Linked DNA regions of Homo sapiens: region 2 is linked to region 1. The links are contacts of gene promoters, found by promoter capture Hi-C in human tissues and cell types (Jung and others, 2019). All regions are on one chromosome and are shown on one strand. Each heading gives the region's core, a stretch centred on a gene start or on the middle of the fragment in contact. The rest is flanking DNA. Distances are from core to core; before and after follow the strand shown.

The links. The method cuts DNA at HindIII sites, captures the fragments that hold promoters and counts their contacts. A contact is called where the count stands out against the background at its distance.
Region 2: a contact is called between a fragment that was not itself captured here and the fragment with the promoter of TMEM200C in region 1, in 3 of the 25 tissues and cell types used here (H1 embryonic stem cells, mesendoderm cells and thymus).

The regions. Positions count from the first base shown.
Region 1 is chr18:5,894,246-5,896,798 of GRCh38, reverse strand. TMEM200C (transmembrane protein 200C) reads left to right here and starts at 1,277. Exons shown (of 2, transcript NM_001395400.1): 1 at 1,277-1,769. All of the region lies in intron 9 of MIR3976HG (MIR3976 host gene), which reads right to left. LOC121725015 (a long non-coding RNA gene) reads right to left here and starts at 1,072. Exons shown (of 3, transcript NR_172505.1): 1 at 713-1,072. The HindIII fragment of the contact is 12,914 bases long and covers 1-2,553 here.
Region 2 is chr18:5,999,245-6,001,797 of GRCh38, reverse strand. All of the region lies in intron 16 of L3MBTL4 (L3MBTL histone methyl-lysine binding protein 4), which reads left to right. Among named protein-coding and RNA genes, the nearest start is that of TMEM200C, 100 kb to the right of the region's middle. The HindIII fragment of the contact is 4,141 bases long and covers 1-2,553 here.

The DNA.
Region 1 (2,553 bases), core at 28-2,527:
TGCTGTGTATGTGGGGAACAATCTTGTAACAGGAGCTGCGGGCAGCAGAGCCCTCCTGTGTGGGTTTTGTGGACCCCTAAGCAGCAAAACTCAGAATATATAACACCCACCACCACCAAAATATTTATCTGGATCCAAAATTTCAGACAGCACTTGCTTCATCTGCTCTTCTGTTCCTTTCTTCCTGAATCCTGGCTGCCTCATTTCAATAGATAAATGAAATCTTTCTCACTTTCTCAATACTCTTTGGGGAAATTCCACTTTGAAATTCTCTTTTCCCTGTCATTTTTACTTTACAGTTGAGAAGACAGGGATGAACTAGGAAACAGGATCTCGATCTCTTTCTCTCTCTCTCTCGCCTTCTCTCTTTTTTAAATGACGTAGGGAGTTTGGACATCCTCCCTACCCCCACCTCCCCTCTCTGATTCCAACCCTGATTCCTGATTCCTGGAGAATTATAGTTTTCCTTTTAATGCTTGCTGATTACCGCACCGGGGAGGAGCAGGAGGGGCTGCCCAAGGAAGAGCCCCGGAGCCCATTCTGATCTCCGAGGAGCCCCAGCTGCCGGGTCCCGGTCAGGCTGGTCACAAAGCCCGGCGGGGCTGGAGCGCGAGCGCATCTGGCAGAGGCTTCCAAGCGTCCCGCGGTGCGCCCGTCCCGGCGGGGGCGGCTCCACTCCGCCCGGGCCCGAGTTCGCTGGGGGACAACTTACTGTGCTTGCCGAGCGTCCACACTGCAAACTCCCAAGCGGGAGGGGGAAGAGAGCCCAGGCTGCGCCGTGCCGAGGAGTAGAGGCAACAAAAGACCGAGGCACGAGGGGAGGGAGGCAGGCACGGAGGGACCGCGGACTCTGGCCCCTAGCTCCCCGAGAGCGCCCCTCGGATGCTGCTGGGGAGACCCTCCGGGCCTCTCTTTGGGGCCTCTGGGGCCCGCGGCTCAGACAGGTAGTTGGAGGAAAGAAGAACAAAGCTGCCCGCGGAGGCAGGCGGCGGTCTCGGGGCGCCCCGGGGCGGGGAGAGCCGAGGCCGAGGAGGCACCCCGCGCCCCCTGCCCCGCGGCCCGAGCGCCCCGTGCCGGCTGCCTCCGCCGCCTCCCCTCACGCCTCCTCCTCCCCGAGGAATCGGCGCTTCCGAAGGGACGGGCGGCGGGCGGCGGAGGACGCGGGGGAGCGGGGAAGGCCGGCGGCGTGGGGGGGGGCGCCGGAGGAGGGGGTGGGGCGGGGGGCGGGGGCGGGGGCGCCCCCCGACTCCGCCGAGCCGGGCGGGCCCCGACCGCCACCCTGCCGCAATTTCCCTGTGTCATGGCTCCGGTCTCTTAGCAACAGCCGCCAGTCCGGCCGCCCCGAGCCGCCGCCGCGGGCTCAACTCCACCCGGCGGAGCCCGGCGCGCCGCAGCCACACAAAAGAGGCGCGAGGGCCGGCGGCGCGGCCGCAGGGGCCCGCCCGGGAGCGCCGCGCTAGGGGACGCCGGGAGCTGGAGGATGAGCGGCGGAGAGGAGGGCTCCGAGGCGGGATGCGGGATGCGGGATGCGGAGGACCTGACACTTCTTGGAAACTCTTGGAAATGGCTCCCGCCACAGCGCCGGCGGGGACTGCGAGCCTGGGGCGGGCGCTCGCCCCCGCGGGGCTGCTGAGTCGCGCTCGGATGCGGGGCCCCGGGGCGCTGTCCCTGCGCTCCGCCGTCGGCTCGGGCTGAAAAAGTTTCTCCATGGTTCCTTTGTGTCGCCCGAGCGCCCGTTCGCCGGCCCCGACCTCCCTCGGTCTCCCTGGGTAAGTGAGCGATCTTGCGTGCGGAGAGTGCTGCCATTTTGAGCAATTCTGCCAGTCCCCAGCCCTTGGGGGCCCCTCCCCGCCCCTCGGGTCCCCGAGTCCCCGCGCCCCGGGCTGGTGTTCGGTGAGAGGCTTTTTCCCGGGCTGGCTACACGGGATGCGCTGCCCAGAAAAAGCTAGTTCAGGATTGCCCTCACTTGGCTCCTGCCTGTCTTCTTTCCAGAGGCGGACTCCCAGCTGCTGCACTCATGTGACTCCAGCTAACATCAATAAGCAGACCAAAGCCAGGGGCCAGGGGGTCGCCGCCCTGCCAGTGAGGGGCCGGGGTCGAGGACCTGGGTTGGGTACCGGGCACAGCACAGCGCTCCCAGCCTGTGGGATCCGAGCCTCCGAGCCTCAGAGTGGGGCTTAATCCATCTTGAGCGGAGAACTTGAATGTCTCTCTTGGAAGCAGTTGTATTTTTAGACATCCCTCCTTTGCTTCCCCCATCCTCCATTCTTTAACCACGGTAAGACCAGCTCCAGGCAGTAAATTGCGAGGGCAGCCAAGCTTGACTGCTAAGTTTGTTTTCTTTCATTAGGTATAAAGGAAAACCTCAAAGGTGGGTCTCCCGTGGCATCTGACCTTTGTCTGTATTTCGTGTCAGATGATGATACATTAAAAGGGAGTACAGCCTTCAACAGAGCTGAAGGAATAATAAACGAGGGAGTTAATTACTAGCTATTAAACTCATTTTAAAGATGTGCGGTAAAGGACTGTTGAAATCCATTCCAACCTTCCTTA
Region 2 (2,553 bases), core at 31-2,530, 100 kb before region 1:
GTCCTACAGATCCCTTAGACTCTTCACTTTTCTTTAATCTTACTGCTTTATATTCCTCATACTCAATTTCAATTGTCTTATCTTCAAATTCACTAATTCTTACTTCTACTCAAATCTGCTTTAGTATCCCTCTAGTGAATTTTTCATTCTAGTTATTTTTCTGTTGATTTTTTTCCTTTGAGTGGGTCATACTTTCCTGTTTTCATATACCACGTATTTTTTTGTTGTTGAAACTGACCATTTGAATCTCATAATATAGTATCTCTATTAATCAGATTCCCCGCCTTCCCCAGGGTTTGCTGCTTCTGATTTTGGTTTTTGTTTGTTTGGGGTTTTTTAATTGTTTTATGGTAGCTCCATGCCAGACATCAGCATGAGGTGTAAACTTAAGGTCTTCTCAGGTCATTTCTGAGCCCACTGCTTTCCTTGGTCGTGCATGGTGACTTACTAAATTCCCTTGTATATGTTATTGCTTTTAAATGTGCTAATCCTTAAATGTTTGGCTCCCCAGAAGGGGAAAACTGGACGGAAATTTTTTTAAGGCAATTATCTTCACATACCCTGGAAGCCACTTTAGGCAATGGGGATTGCTATAAAGGCCTCTGGCCTGCACCTTCATAGTCAGTTATGAGGACACAGATCCTCAATATTTGGAGGACAAGGTACTTATTGCCCACCCTGGTTCTTGAAAGCCACATGCAAGTTGCACCCAGATTGTTGGCACAGCTGCCTGCCACAGGGCTGGAGGATGGGAAGTGAGTAGTTGCTACTGTTCTAAGAGCTGAAATTGACCAAAATTAGCCATGATTTACCACCATCTAAGCTGACCTCCGGAAGCTGCAAGACTCCAGAGATCCAAAATAGTTCTATCAGTCAGATTCTGCCAGTGCAATTGTTGTCTAGGCAGAGAGACAGATTCCTGGCACTTCCTACCCACCATCTTCCCTAACATCACTCCTGTCCTTTGTTTTTGAAAGTTTTGAGACAATATGTGATGCTTGACTGGATGCTGTAATGAGTGTTTATCTTTAAGCTCCAAAAACTTTACTAAGATAGGTCTTGTTATTGCATTCCAATTCACTGAATGTGGCACATGGTATGCCCTTATGATATATAGATTCAAGTACATTCACATATATAGATTTAGGAAAGGGTTGTTTTTATTATATATTTAAATATTTGCTCTGTTTCATTGTTTTGATTTTTCCTCAGACACACTAATTATGTATGTGTTGAATCACCTTCTCTAATGTTTTTTAAGTTCTTTTTAAATTTAAATTTCATTTTGCTTGACTTTCTCATTTTTATCTTTTATGAGTATAATCCTGACTCCGGGTTATGCAAGGTCCATTCTCCCTTTCTGCTCCTTCGAGTTCCATCTCTATTCCTGTAATGGTTTTATTTTTCTCCTCTACTTCTTTCTGGAGTTCTGCATTGCCTTTTATTGACTTGCTGTCTCTTCCTCGAATTGTCACATTTCTACTTTATTTTCTTCCTTCCTAGAGATAATTGCCTCACTAAGCTTTATTTTGTGTTTCCAAACATGTCAGAATGTCTGATCACTCTTTCATCTCCTCAGTGGCAATATTTTTATGGATACATTTTAAAAATTTAATAGATTTTACTGGTCTCATTCACATTTTTCTCATGGCATCTTTATAACAACACCATATCATTTTTTTTTCTTTTTCTTCTTTCTTTTTTCTGAGCTCACTCATTACTTAATGAGTTCAATTTTCCTGAACTAACTATTCACACACATCTATATTGACAGGAAATGAGGGCTAGGCTTTCCAACTAAAAGGTTTCTCTCTCTTGCCTGACACTGAGACAGAGTGCTTCCTGCAAACATGGCTCCTCTGGACTATTCTCTGTGTAGCCCTGAAAACTCTAACTCCTTGAACAAAACTAAGTCCAGTAGGGCTTCTTTTATACCAACCCTGCTCACCCAAGGTCCTGTCCCCATTTGTACAAGCAAGGAATGTGCCTTTGCATTCTGGCAGTGGCCACCCAGGAGATCGGCCACCACTCAGCCCTTCTTTTCTTCCCTTCCCCTGCATATCTTCTAGCCAATCACAGTTGCTTCTGGCCCTTTTTACAGATATATTGAATCTAGGGAATTTATCTGCCTTCTAGTTTCACTGAAAATGGAATTTATGGTGTTTCCTTTATTTTCTTCGTTGTTTGTTTTTGTATGATTCTAGGAGGATGAGGAGAAATGCTCACAGCCATATTCCTTGCTGATTAGCATGTTTAAAATGACTTTAATAGAAAAACATGTTCTTTTCTTTCATTCCATTCAACACATTTTTATGAAGCACAGCACACTCTGAGGAAGGTAGGGCGTGCTCAGAAGAAAGAGTGAGCCCTTCCTTGGTGGGGGCATAAAGGTGGAAACAGCTATTACAGTTACAGGGTAGCATAGGGTAAGTGCTGCTTTGCAACCTCAAACCAAGACATTTGGAAGAGGGAAACCAATTGATTCTCTTTGTGGGAATCAGACATTTTCAGGAGAAGATAGCATCTGAACTAGGCCATAAATAGTGGGTGGAA